Linked DNA regions of Homo sapiens: all the other regions are linked to region 4. Evidence: promoter capture Hi-C in 16 types of primary human blood cells and fetal thymus (Javierre and others, 2016). All regions are on one chromosome and are shown on one strand. Each heading gives the region's core, a stretch centred on a gene start or on the middle of the fragment in contact. The rest is flanking DNA. Distances are from core to core; before and after follow the strand shown. Region 1 overlaps GPR107 (G protein-coupled receptor 107). Region 2 has its middle 4.9 kb from the start of MIR12126. Region 3 overlaps GPR107 (G protein-coupled receptor 107). Region 4 holds the start of TOR1A (torsin family 1 member A).

Evidence for each region. Contacts are between HindIII fragments. The CHiCAGO score rates a contact against its expected background, and 5 or more counts as called.
Region 1: a contact is called between a fragment that was not itself captured here and the fragment with the promoter of TOR1A in region 4, in 12 of 17 cell types (naive CD4 T cells, activated CD4 T cells, non-activated CD4 T cells and 9 more). The highest score is 13.3, in naive CD4 T cells.
Region 2: a contact is called between a fragment that was not itself captured here and the fragment with the promoter of TOR1A in region 4, in 2 of 17 cell types (endothelial precursors and activated CD4 T cells). The highest score is 5.8, in endothelial precursors.
Region 3: a fragment that was not itself captured here is called in contact with the fragment with the promoter of TOR1A in region 4 in 3 of 17 cell types (activated CD4 T cells, endothelial precursors and megakaryocytes); the score reaches 5.7 in activated CD4 T cells.

Annotation. Positions count from the first base shown.
Region 1 is chr9:130,095,111-130,098,273 of GRCh38, reverse strand. All of the region lies in intron 9 of GPR107 (G protein-coupled receptor 107), which reads right to left. Among named protein-coding and RNA genes, the nearest start is that of GPR107, 43 kb to the right of the region's middle. The HindIII fragment of the contact is 8,854 bases long and covers 1-3,163 here.
Region 2 is chr9:130,244,559-130,248,100 of GRCh38, reverse strand. No RefSeq gene overlaps it. Among named protein-coding and RNA genes, the nearest start is that of MIR12126, 4.9 kb to the right of the region's middle. The HindIII fragment of the contact is 685 bases long and covers 1,306-1,990 here.
Region 3 is chr9:130,110,953-130,114,158 of GRCh38, reverse strand. The region is part of intron 14 of GPR107 (G protein-coupled receptor 107); the gene reads right to left. Among named protein-coding and RNA genes, the nearest start is that of GPRACR, 32 kb to the left of the region's middle. The HindIII fragment of the contact is 3,979 bases long and covers 1-3,206 here.
Region 4 is chr9:129,822,732-129,826,110 of GRCh38, reverse strand. It overlaps TOR1A (torsin family 1 member A), which reads left to right and starts at 1,975. Exons shown (of 5, transcript NM_000113.3): 1 at 1,975-2,203; 2 at 3,265-3,379. The coding sequence starts at 2,026. RefSeq lists an enhancer at 1,781-2,090 and a silencer at 2,501-2,590. The HindIII fragment of the contact is 11,037 bases long and covers 1-3,379 here.

The DNA.
Region 1 (3,163 bases), core at 439-2,938, 270 kb before region 4:
TCCACCTTTCGGCTGCCGGGCATTAAATTCCTCTACTCCTTCCCACCTCCCCTTAGGAATTAACCTAATAGAACATATTAAGACTATTATGAGGCTAGGTGCAGTGGCTCATGCCTGTAATCCCACACTTAGGGAGGCTGAGGTGGGAAGATTACTTAAGCCCAAGAGTTTGGGATTAGCCTGGGCAAGATGACAAAACTCCATCTCTACCAAAAATACAAAAAGTTAGCTGGGTGTGGCGGTGCACACCTGTAGTCCCAGCTACTTGGGAGGCTGATGTGGGAGGATCACTTGAGCCCAGGAGGCAAAGGCTGCAATGAGCCGTGACTGTGCCATTGCACTCCAGACTGGGTGACAGAGCGAGTCCCTGTCTCAAAACGGTCTCAAAACAAACAAAAATTAAGCCAGGAGTGGTGGTGCGTCCCTATAGTTTCAGCTATTCGGGAGGCTGAGGTGGGAGGATCACTTGAGCTCAGGAGTTTGAGGCTGCTGTAAGCCTTGATTACGCCACTGCTCCAGCCTGGACAACTTAGTGAGACCCTGTCTCAAAAAAAAAAAAAAAAACCCAAAGAATACAGGCAGCCACAAGAGGGGAAATGGTTAAGTCTCTAAAATGATAATCCACATCACCAATATTCAGAGAAACGCAAAATAAAGCAAGATACCACTTTACACCTATCAGATTGGCAAAAATTAAGATGTCAGTATTGGTAAGAATGTGGAGAAACAGCAAACCTTATTATGTATGCACCACTGGTAGACGTATAAACCTATATGCCACACTGGAAGGCAATCTGGCCCTTAACGAAATTAACTGATGGCTGGGCGCAGTGGCTCATGCCTGTAGTCCCAGCACTTTGGGAGGCCGAGGCGGGAGGATCTCTTGAGGCCAGGAGTTCAAGACCTGCTTGGCCAACACAGTGAAAACCCGTCTCTACTAAAAATACAAAAATTAGCCCGGCATGGGCGTACATGCCTATAGTCCCAGCTACTCAGGAGGGTGAGGCAGGAGAATCGCTTGCACTCAGGAGGTGGAGGTTGCAATGAGCCAAGATGGTGCCACTGCACTCCAGCTTGGGTGACAGAGTGAGACTCTGTCTCAAAAAAAAAAAAAAAAAGAAAAAAAAGAAAAGTAAAGAAAAGAAATTAACTACCCATGGCACAGTGTGCTTCCTTCTGGGACTGCAGCTCGGAGGCTGCACAGATCCACAGGGGATCTTTGGAGGTACATGCCAGCACTGGCTGAGGTAGCAGGGAGATGTAGGCAGTCCAGGCGTGTGTCTATCACTAAAGGACCAAAGCAGTCAAACGTGAGGACACAGAGCATGGGATGCTGTGGAGTAGGTAAAAATCAATGAATGAGATGCACACTCAGCCACATGGCTAGATCGCAGAAAGGATAATACTGAGTAAAAAATGTACAACAACGTCTATAGATATTTTATGTAAACTTAAAATAAATGCAACACCAGTAAACAGTACTTATCTATAAGAATATAGAAATATCCAAAAATCAGGCCAGACGCAGTGGCTCACGCCTGTAATCCCAGCACTTTGGGAGGCCGATCACCTGAGGTCAGGAATTCTAGACCAGCCTGGCCAACGTAGTGAAACCCCGTCTCTACGAAAAATACAAAAATTAGCCGGGCATGGTGGCAGGCGCCTGTAGTCCCAGCTACTCGGGAGGCTGAAGCACGAGAATTGCTTGACCCGGGAGGCGGAGGTTGCAGTGAGCTGAGATTGCACCACTGCACTCCAGCCTGGGGCACAGAGTGAGACGAGGTCTCAAAAAAAAAAAAAAAAAAGTCCAAAAATGTATATGCAACACATTTGAGCAGTTCTCCACTACTGGGAAGGAGTGGGAGAGGGGACAGGAAATGAAGGGGAACAATAGAGCAGGAGAGGGGCCTGGCACCAAGTGAGAATGAGAGTGTACCACAAAGGGATATCAGTTTCTGGGCTCATTTCCTCCCTGGTACTTTCCTGTTCCAGTGCCCACCTACTTGAAGGTCAAAAGGGAAGTCAAGGCCAGAATAGCCTGGAACTACTGAATGCCAATGAGATTTACCCAGAGTGTAAAACCACCCACCACAAAGAGCTGTGCTCATTCACACTCTGGCAACCTTGACTTGCAGTCCATGGTTAGAATATCTACGATGGGGCAGAGATGTGATGGAAAGAATACTCACTGACCTCGGCTCAAATACTAGTTCTACCTACACTTGAAGTTGGGAGGGGCCTGATACATACTAGCAAGCAGACCCGAGTTCCAGTCCCAGGTCTGTTGGGTGACACTGGCTCTCGTTTCCCCTCTCTGGGCCTCAATAAATGAGGCAAAGATCTCTTAGTCGTTTCCAGCTTTCAGGGGCCAGTGAAATGCGCCTGGCGGCCTTGGTCATATGCCTTTATATCATGTGGGTTTCCAGCCTACCAGAACTGACTCTAAGACTCCCGGGAAAACATGGGCAGGACTTAACTGACCTTCCCCCATGCACACTATACTCCAACAAAAATTACAGATGAGACTTGTACACAATAGGTCAGCCTCATTTAACCACAGATTGAAAACTGTGTTATCACGGTCTGGGTGCACTGGCTCATGCTGGTAATCCCAGCACAATGGGAGGCCAAGGCAGGTGGATCACGAAGTAAAGAGATCAAGACCATCCCAGCCAACATGGTGAAACCCCGTCTCTACTAAAAATACAAAAATAAGCCAGGCATGGTGGCGGACGCCTGTAGTCCCAGCTACTTGGGAGGCTGAGGCAGAAGAATCACTCAAACCCAGAAGGCAGAGGTTGCAGTGAGCCAAGATTGCACCACTGCACTCCAGCCTGGCGACAGAGCGAGACTCTGTCTCAAAAAAAATAAAATAAAGAAAACTGTTACCACAATTTGATACAAGTGAACCAGTGACAATGACTATTGCCACCAATAACTAAAGGAAAATTAAAACACCACTGAACCCCTGGCTACTAAACTATTTTATAAACACCTCATGTTTGGATTGCGCCCTGATTTGCAAAGCCCTCTCATACACATTATCTTAGGGAGAATCACACAACATGTCTAAGAATCCAAGACTCTTACAGGAAGGCAGAGTAACTATTACTGTCCCAGTTTCATAGCCAAGAAAAAAAGAGATTTACAGTGAAGCAAGGCA
Region 2 (3,542 bases), core at 399-2,898, 420 kb before region 4:
GAGTGCAGTGGCGCGATCTCAGCTCACTGCAAGCTCCGCCTCCCGGGTTCACGCCATTCTCCTGCCTCAGCCTCCCGAGTAGCTGGGACTACAGGCACCCGCCATCACGCCCGGCTAATTTTTTGTGTTTTTAGTAGAGACGGGGTTTCACCGTGTTAGCCAGGATGGTCTCGATCTCCTGACCTCGTGATCCGCCCGCCTGAGTCTCCCAAAGTGCTGGGATTATAGGCATGAGCCACCGCGCCTGGCCAAAACTTTCAAACTTTTAGAAGAAACACAGGAGAACAAATATTCACCACCTGAGGATAGGCAGAGAGTTCTTACACATGACACCAAAAGCACAGTCTATGACAGGAAAACTTGAGAAGCTGACTTTATCAAAATTCATAATGTGGCCTGGCATTGTGACTCAACGCCTGTAATCCCAACACTTTGGGAGGCTGAGGCAGGTGGATCACCTGAGGTCAGGAGTTTGAGACCAACCTGACCAATATGGTGAAACCCTGTCTCTACTAAAAGTACACATTTAGCCGGGCATGGTGGCACGTACCTGTAATCTTAGCTACTCGGGAGGCTGAGGCAAAAGAATCGCTTGAACGTGGGAAGTGGAGGTTGCGGTGAACCAAGATTGTGCCATGGCACTCCAGCCTGGGCAACAAGAGCAAAACTCCGTCTCAAAAAAAAAAAAAAAAAGAAAAGAAAAGAAAAGAAAAAAGAAATTTATTTCTCACAGTTCTGGAGACTGAGAAGTTCAATATCAAGGTGCCAGCACCTTGTAAGGGCCTTCATGGTGTGTCATCCCATGGCAGAAGGTGGAAGGGCAAGTGAGCGTGAGAAAGAAAGAACCCACTCCTCAAAGCCCGCCTTTTTAAAATTTTTTTGAGACAGGGTCTCACTCTGTCACCCAGACTGGAGTGCAGTGGTTTGATCTCGGCTCACTGCAACCTCTGCCTCCCAGGTTCAAGTGACTATCCCACCTCAGCCTCCTGAGTAGCTGGGATTACAGGCATGTGCTACCACACCTGGCTAATTTTTGTATTTTTTGGTAGAGACGGGGTTTCACCATGCTGGCCAGGCTGGTCTCTAACTCCTGACTTCAAGTGATCTGTCTGCCTCAGCCTCCCGGAGTGCTGGGATTACAGGTGTAAGCCACCGTACCCAACCAAGGCATTAACCCACTCATGAGGGCAGAACTGTCATGGCCTAACCACTTCCTAAAGCACCAGCTCGTAATACTGTCACAATGGCAATTACATTTCAAACACGTGTTTTGGAAGGAACATTCATGGAAGTAACACCCAAGCTTCATTGGAATAAAAAGGCTTTTTCTTCTGTGTTTTTTGGTATGGATTTGTTAAACATTTCAAGCTCATTCCGTTGGATATAATTTAATCTTGTTCTTCATAGTTGAAGAGCACTCACTCATAGCATTAAGGTGCAAAGTATATTATTTTTTATAATTATCAACTTAATACACACATACACAAAGGATTAGGGAACAGGCCGGGTGTGATGGCATGTGACTGTAGTCTCAGCTACTTGGGAGGCTGACATGGGAGGATCACCTAAGGCCAAGAGTTCGAGACTGCAGTGAGCTATGATCACACCACTGTACTCCAGCCTGGATAAAAGAGTAAGGCCCTGTTTCAAAAAAAAGAAAAGAAAAAAAGAGAGATTAGGGAAAAGAAGCTGCTCAGAGTCACCAGCTGGTGCTTCCACTGGGTCTCAGCCTGGTCTTGTTGACTCAGAGGCCAGGACATGGTGCTGGTGACGTGCTACCCCTATGGACAGCAGGGACCGGGGCTCTGGGAGTGGCTATGTGTCCTCCAAGCTGGTGCTCCCTGGAGAGGCTGTTCCTACTTGTAAGGAAACAGAGGAACACATTGCAAAACCTTTCATTTCACTTGATGGGAAACATCATTTTATCATCCTTCTCTGTCACCTGCATCTTTCTAACCTCTCAGTTTTTCTCTGGCACTGAGCAAAAGCTTAGCCCACTTTGTGCTGGGGATTGAGCTGGGGAATTTCCAAGTAGTGATTCTAGTGACAGTGATTGCATATAGCAGGGCTCTATTTGATGTAAACTCATCACAGGCCCTGGGGCTCCAGTTTTCCTATTTATCTGGCTATATGGGTCCTCGTGGCTCCAGAAAAAGCGGGGGCAAGGGCCAGACCAATTTTTTTTTTTTTTTTTTTTTCAGATAAAGTCTCACTCTGTCACTCAGGCTGGAGTACAGCGGTGCGATCTCAGCTCACTGCAACCTCCACCTCCCAGGTTTAAGAGATTTCTGGCTAAATTTTGTATTTTTAATAGTGACAGGATTTCACCATATTGGCCAGGCTGGTCTCGAACTCCTTACCTCAAGTGATCCACGCGCCTCGGCCTCCCAAGGGAGGAATTACAGGCGTGCGCCACTGCGCCCGGGCCAGGTGCCCCAGAGATAGCTCCCTGGGTGGTTGTGGGGGGCCCCTTGGGGTTGGTGGGGCAGAGGTCATGTTGGCAGTGGGGAGCCTCCCTCTGCTATCGACTAGTTCATGACAGGCTCCTGTTTCAAGGTATTTTCCTCTCTGAAATTTTGGACTTGGACCCAGATCTTGAGTGCAGCTTCACCCATGGCCCAAGTGGCAAGAAATAAAAGCTGATAGCCAAATCGATGGACCAAAATGAAGGGGCAACAACTTTGGGGTGGAGAGAATTGGATAATATCAATGACATTCACTGTTTTCACGTAGGAAAGGCCCTCAGACAGATCATCTGAGCATCACACAGATGCTCCCCAGCAGCCCTATGAGAAACGTGCTTCTATTATCCTCACTTTAAAGAGGAGGAAACTGAAGCTCAGAGAAGTTCAGATTCAGTCTATCTCCAAAGCCAACTGCTGGTGGGGATGCAGCCAGCACTGGAACCCAGAGAAGGAACCTTAACTGCCAGTCATGCTGGATGAGATGAGAAACTTTGGGACAAGAGGTCCCTTCGCCCCAAATTTAATTTACAGCCAGATGGGTATGGCAACCACAGTAGCTTCAAGACATTTGAAAACCAGCCAAGAGCACCAAAGAGAGCCGGCTTTCTCCAGCCCCACCTGCCCGTCATATCCCAGGCCTCCCTAGGTCCCCCACTGGCCAATCAGAGTCCCTCTTATGGGGGAAACCCTTTCTCCAGCCCTGTCGCAAGACTGGTTAGGAGGGTGAGGATGGGGCCGAGGCCTCGGGGGTCTCAGGGCTTATGGGAGTGGCCGGTTCATCACCTTCCTTTACTTCTGGGAGAGCCCCTGGCAGGGAGAGGCCAGAAGTCAGCCAAGGACACCTGCTGCCCTGTGGCCACTGGGGCTGGGTGGTTCCGAGGAGCCACGGATCTGACTTGTGCTTGCACCAGGAAGGTGGCTTCTCCTCACACGAGGGCTCAGCCCTGTGGCCTCGTGGAAAATTTCAGATTCTGGGAAGTGCTGGTTCTAGGTGACCCAAGGGAGAGGACATCAGGCCAAAGGTGATGCGTCACGGTGGTGGTCACAGTTTGGGGTCCAGTTGGCCTCAAATCCCCT
Region 3 (3,206 bases), core at 5-2,504, 290 kb before region 4:
GACCTCAACTGATCCGTTTGCCTCCGCCTCCCAAAGTGCTGGGATTACAGGCATAAGCCACTGTGCCTGGCCCCAAAATAAAAAACCTCTTTTCTAAAAAAAAAAAATGAAAAAAAAAAAAAAAAAAAAGAATGAGAAGACCAGAATTATTTTTGTAATTCTCTTTAATGTCTAGCTTAATAACATGCAGCTGGGTTCTCATATTTGATTCAATCAGCATTCAACTTGCTGTGAGGGAGTATTTGGTGAAAATATATGAAGAAAATCTGGCCCCATACAGATAGATGTAGGCCTTTTCAGATTACTGTGAATAGTCTGTGATTCTACATTAAAACCTGACAAGAGGTTGCTTCTAAAGATGAGGGAGGTGGGGAATCTGAAATTTATCAATGAACTTTCCACACTCTTACATTAATAAACTCCACTGGTCCATCCTGCACTTTCAGGAGAGCTTTTACCCCCATGCATGACTATGGAACATCCTGCACTGGCCAGGTGGAAGACAATGTTTCAGTGTGTTATGTAGATCTCCCAGATACAGAAACATTTTATTATAGAATTCTTAAAAAAATCACATTGTTAGTATCACCTCTGCTTACATCATAAGTCTTATAAGAACTGGGAAACTGGCCGGGTGTGGTGGCTCACACCTATAATCCCAGCACTTTGGGAGGCCGAGGTGGGTGGATCACTTGAGGTCAGAGTTTGAGACCAGCTTGGGCAACAAATTGAGACCCCGTCTCTACAAAAAATATAAGAATTAGCCGGGCATGGTGGAAAGACCTGTAGTCCCACCTACTCAGGAGGCTGCAGTGGGAGGCTCACTTGAGCCCAGGAGGTCAAGGCTGCAGTGAGCTGAGATTGTGCCATTGCACTCCAGCCTGACTCAAGGAAAAAAAAAAAAAAAAAAAAAGATCTGGGAAACTGTCAGTTAGGAAACTGTCAGGCTGACAGGGATAAACACAAGTTTTCTTTTATCACTGGCAACAAATACTATTAGTTGTTTTTGTTGAAGTAATATGTTCACTTTGTTCATTTTCAAGAAAATGTCCACCACAAACCCATGTCTGTGTCACCATAACAGTCATTCTTCCAGATAAAAGCAGCTTGGCCAGGCACAGTGGCTCATGCCTGTTATCTCAGTACTCTGGGAGGCCTAGGTGGGTGGATCACTTGAGCTCAGGAGTTTGAGACTAGCCTGGGCAATATGACAAAATCCTATCTCTACAAAAAATACAAAAATTAGCCAGGCATAGCAGCACACGCCTGTAGTCCTAGCTACTTTGAGGGCTGAGGTGAGAGGATCGGTTGGGCCCAGGAGGTTGAGGCTGCAGTAAGCCAAGATTACACCACTGGACTCCAGCCTGGGCAACAGTGCAAGACCCTGTCTCAAAAAAATAAATAAATAAAAAACAACAAAAAAATAAAATAAAAGCAGCTAGTTCAGCTTGCAATTCAAACAAGTGCACACGTACTTTCCCTCAAGGCCACACCCATCACACTTCAGGCCCAGCAGCAGTGCTGTGTGCACACCTCCCATGCTGTCTCACAGAATATTAAAAGGCAAGGGTTGAGATTTAATCACATCAACAGTTTTATTATTTCAAGACCATTCTTAAGTGATATGAGCCTTTTTCACCCCCTGTGAGTAGGTGACAGTAAAGAATGCAGTGGCTACTGGCAGATTCTGGTACCACAGCCTGGAATCACGTGACGGTGCCGGCAATTTCACCCATCATTGCTTTTCACCATCAGGCAAATGTCAACAGCACAAGAGACTCACACCGTATGATTATGAAAATAGTTTTGATCCCGAGGACCCCCTTGAGAACCGCTGCCCTAACAAATGCCTCGCATGGTCGCGGCTCCTTTCAGAGCACGGCGGCACCTCGGAATGAAGCCGTTCCTCCATCAACTCTGCAGCCAGCCAACCGGGATTGTTTAAATACTTCTGAAGCTCACATGAAAGCTAAGGCTCTTCAGAATACATCTTCTGACTTTTCCTCAGAAACACAAGGCCCAAAAAAAGGATGGTGAGCAGCAGAGACTGTTAATTAAATTTACGGTGTGTATCTCGACGCCAGTCCTATAAGGTAATGACACTGGAGAAAGAGAAGGGAACGCGGATGCGGGCTCAAGGGCAGTCAGAGCCAGTAAATCTTAGCAGGCGAGACAGAGTGGAGCCAGCGCTAGGTGTGTCTGTGCGAGACTCAATTAAGCTCCCTCTCGGAGGATGCAGTGCAGCTGTGAGTCTCAGTGACCGAGGACCTGAGAGAAGCCACTGCGCGTGACAGGAGAGACAAAGACGCGGCTAAAGGACAGTGGGCAGCTTCGGCCTCAATGCTTTCCTTTAGATTTCCCTCAGGTTTGGTCAAAAGGAATCCAGAGACAACAAAGTAAAAGCCAAACAAACACTCTCTGAAAGCTGTATTCACCCCAAAACTGAAAACTGTATTCACCCCAAAACTGAAAGCTGTATTCACCCCAAAACGGAAAGCTGTATTCACCCCAATGCAGGAAGGAAAACTACAAATGGCATGTCTCTCACTTGCAGTTACTGGGCCTGGACTGCACCTAAACTAAAAATGAGATTCTTTGCCATAGTGTTTTGTTGTTGTTGTTGTTTTGAGATAGGGTCTGGCTCTGTTGCCCAAGCTGGAGTACAGTGGTACAATCTCAGCTCACTGTAGCCTTGATCTCCTGGGCTCAAGTGATCTTCTCACCTCACCCTCCCAAGTAGCTGGGACTACAGGCGTGTGCCATCAAGCCCCGATAATTTTTGTATCTTTTTCTAGAGGTGGGGTTTTGCCATGTTGCCCAGGCTGGTCTGCCACAGTTTTTTGTGTGGTTTTGGTAGAGATGGGATCTTGCTATTATGTCACCCAGGCTGGTCTAAAACTCCTGGCCTCAAGCAATCCTCCTGCCTCGGCCTCCCAAAGCGCTAGCATTACAGGCCTAAGCCACCATGCCTGGCCTAAAAGTGAGATTCTTAAGCCCGAAGTGGCCAGATGCAGTGGCTCACACCTGTAATGCCAGCATTTTGGGAGGCCTCATGAGGCAGGACGATGGCTTGAGGTTAGGAGTTTAAGACCAGCCTGGGCAACAGAGTGAGACCTCATCTCTACAAAAATTTTAAATTAAAAAAAAGAAAAGCCCAAGTTACTGTCAAGGCCATGAAATGAGTCACTGGAATAATGAGCCTGAGA
Region 4 (3,379 bases), core at 726-3,225:
CTCCACCTCCCAAGTTCAAGGAATTCTCCTGTTTCAGCCTCCCATGTAGCTGAGACTACAGGCACACGCAACCATGCCTAGCTAATTTTTTTGTATTTTCAGTAGAGATGGGGTTTCACCATATTGGTCAGGCTGGTCCCAAACTCCTGACCTCAGGTGATGCACCTGCCTCAGCCTCCCAAAATGCTGGATTACAGGCATGAGCCACCATGCCCAGCCAGTTTCTAATGCCATTTTACAATGAAAGGAATCAGGGTTCCTCGTAGAAAATAGGATTCTAGGACTGGGGCAGGAAATACAAGATGAGCCCGGAGTATCCTGTAGTGTCAGAAAGGAAAGAGGCACTCAAACCCAAATAAGCTGGTATATACACTGGGTGTATGTCAAAGGAGCACAAGGAACCACTCAAATTCCCAGTGGCCAAAATGAGAACAATTTGAAAAAAAAATTAGTACTGTAGTATAACAAAGGATAAAATAACAATGGTCCACACTGATATAAATGATTGAATACATGGGGGAGAAGAAACAAATCTCCCATGCAGAATTCCAAATAATTTCTGTAGATACTCTGCCCCCAAGGAGGTGGAGCAAAATCCCCGACTCCTTACGTGTGGGCTGTGCATGGGGACGTCCTTCCAAAGAGTACAGTAGAGAAAAGAGGGGTGGGGGGACCTGACAAACACTACTTCAGTCAAGTGATCAAGTCAGCACCAACAGTGGTAAGTAACGTTGAACAGTAAGAACCCTTCCTTGGTAGGATGTGATGAGCATAGCACTTTACCTCTGTGATCTTCCTTCCAAAACGCCATAACGCTTGTCTAATCCTGAGAAAAACATCAAATCCCAATAGAGGGCCAGCCCACCAAAGATTTGGCCAGTACTCCTCAAAACTATCAAGGTCATCAAAAATAAAAAGCTGAGGCCAGGCGCGGTGGCTCACGCCTGTAATCCCAGCACTTTGGGAGGCTGAGACGGGCAGATCATGAGGTCAGATCAAGACCATCCTGGCCAACATGGTGAAACCCCGTCTCTACCAAAAATACAAAAATTAGCCGGGCATGGTGGTGTGTGCCTGTAATCCCAGCTGCTCAGGAGGCTGAGACAGGAGAATCGCTTGAACCTGGGAGGCAGAGGTTGCAGTGAGCTGAGATCATGCCACTGCACTCCAGCTAAAATAAAAATAAAAGGCTGAGACACTGTCATTAACAGTAGTCTAAGACATGACAACGAAATATAATGTGGTATCCTGAATGGAAACCTGCAGCAGAAAAAGGCATTAAGTAAAAGGAAGGAAATCTGAATAAACTACACTTTAGTTAATATGACAACAGTGCATCGTTAATTTTAACAAATGTAGCACACTAATAATGTAAGATTTTAGTAATAGGGGAAATTGCAGGGATGGGTGGCACATGGGAACTCTCTACTATCTTCTCAATTTTTCTGTAAATCTGTTCTAAAAAATAACGTCCGTTATTATTATTATTATTATTATTATTATTTGCGGGGAGGGGACACAGTCTTGCTCTGTCTCCCAGGCTGGAGTGCAGTGGTGAGATCTCGGCTCACTGCAATCTCCGCCTCCTGGGTTCAAGCGATTCTCATGTGTCAGCCTCCCCAGTAGCTAGGGCTACAGGTGCCTACCACCACACCCGGCTAATTTTATATTTTTAGTAGAGACGTGGTTTCACCATGTTGGTCAGGCTGGTCTCGAACTCCTGACCTCAGGTGATCCGCCCGCCTCAGCCTCCCAAAGGGCTGGGATTACAGGCAGGAGCCACCATGCCTGGCAAAAATAACGTCCATAAACAAAAACACGTGGCCAACAGGGGCGGAGCAGAACCGAGTTTCCGGAAGCAAAACAGGGCTTTGTACCGAACAAAGATGGCGGCCGCCGGCGTCGGGAGGAGGGCTGCCCTGAAGAAAGATGGCCTCCGCGAGAGGAGGAACCGGAAGCGTGGGTCTGGCGGCTGCACCGGTTCGCGGTCGGCGCGAGAACAAGCAGGGTGGCGCGGGTCCGGGCATGAAGCTGGGCCGGGCCGTGCTGGGCCTGCTGCTGCTGGCGCCGTCCGTGGTGCAGGCGGTGGAGCCCATCAGCCTGGGACTGGCCCTGGCCGGCGTCCTCACCGGCTACATCTACCCGCGTCTCTACTGCCTCTTCGCCGAGTGCTGCGGGCAGAAGCGGAGCCTTAGCCGGGAGGGTAGGCTGGGGCGGGGGCTGGAGGCTGGGGCTGGGGCTGGGGCTGGGCGATGGCACTAGGGCTGAACTAGGACCAGGGCATGGAGAATGGAGGATGGAGGCCGGGGGATGGCACCAGGGCCGGGCTAGGACTAGGGCTGGAGCGGGGCCTGGGGGCTGGGGCTGGGCGATGGCACTAGGGCCGGGTTGGGGCTGGGGCTGGGGCTGGGGGATGGAGCGGGGCCCGGGGGCTGGGGGTGGGGCTGGGGGATCGCACTAGGGCTGGGTTAAGACCAGGGCGGTTGGCTGGGGCTAGGGGATTGAGGATGGTGGATGGAGGCTGGGGGATGGCAGTAGGGCCGGGCTAGGACTGGGGCTGGAGCGGAGTTTGGGGGCTGGGGCTCAGGAGCGGGGGCTGGGGCTGGGGCTGGGGCTGGGGGATGGCACTAGGGCCAGGCCGGGGTAGGGGTCACATCCCAGGAGGGCCGGGCCTGGGCAGAGCTGAGTCCGCGGGGGCCGGACCCCGGAAGCCAAGCGGCCGGCCTGCAGGATGAGGCCTGGCTCCTCGGCCATGACCACAGACGTGCCAGACTTAAGTCGGAGACCTGAGGAGCCAGGCTGCAGGTTGGCCTACTTTGCGCTAAGCTGGGGGTGGACCAGTGGTAACCTCCCTCCGAAGTGGGTTCTGCCTCCTTTCTAGCCTAGCGGGAGACAGGAAGGATGGTGAGGACTCTTCCGCAGCCGACCAGGAGGGACCAAACTGTTTCCTTTCCCGGCTCTGCCTTGGGGTGGGAGGAGCAGCACAGGGGTTAGGGGTGCAAACTGGTGGCAGTGGCAGTGGCACCAAGGGGCTTTTCGGGAAGGAGTCGGGCCAGGGCTTTAGAATAGGCAGGACCAGCAAAGGGAGGGCTCCCTGGACCGCCGTCCCCTCTGGGCCAGGAGCTTACAGACCGCAGTACTTGAGGTTTCGCAAGGTGCTTGGAGGGCGTCTAGACGGCTTTGCTGGCTTTCTTATGGGCTGTAAATGTGGCTACATTTTGCCGCTGTTTCTTCCCCACTCCTGATTGGCTTTGTCTTTCCCAGCACTGCAGAAGGATCTGGACGACAACCTCTTTGGACAGCATCTTGCAAAGAAAATCATCTTAAATGCCGTGTTTGGTTTCATAAACAACCCAAAGCCCAAGAAACCTCTCACGCT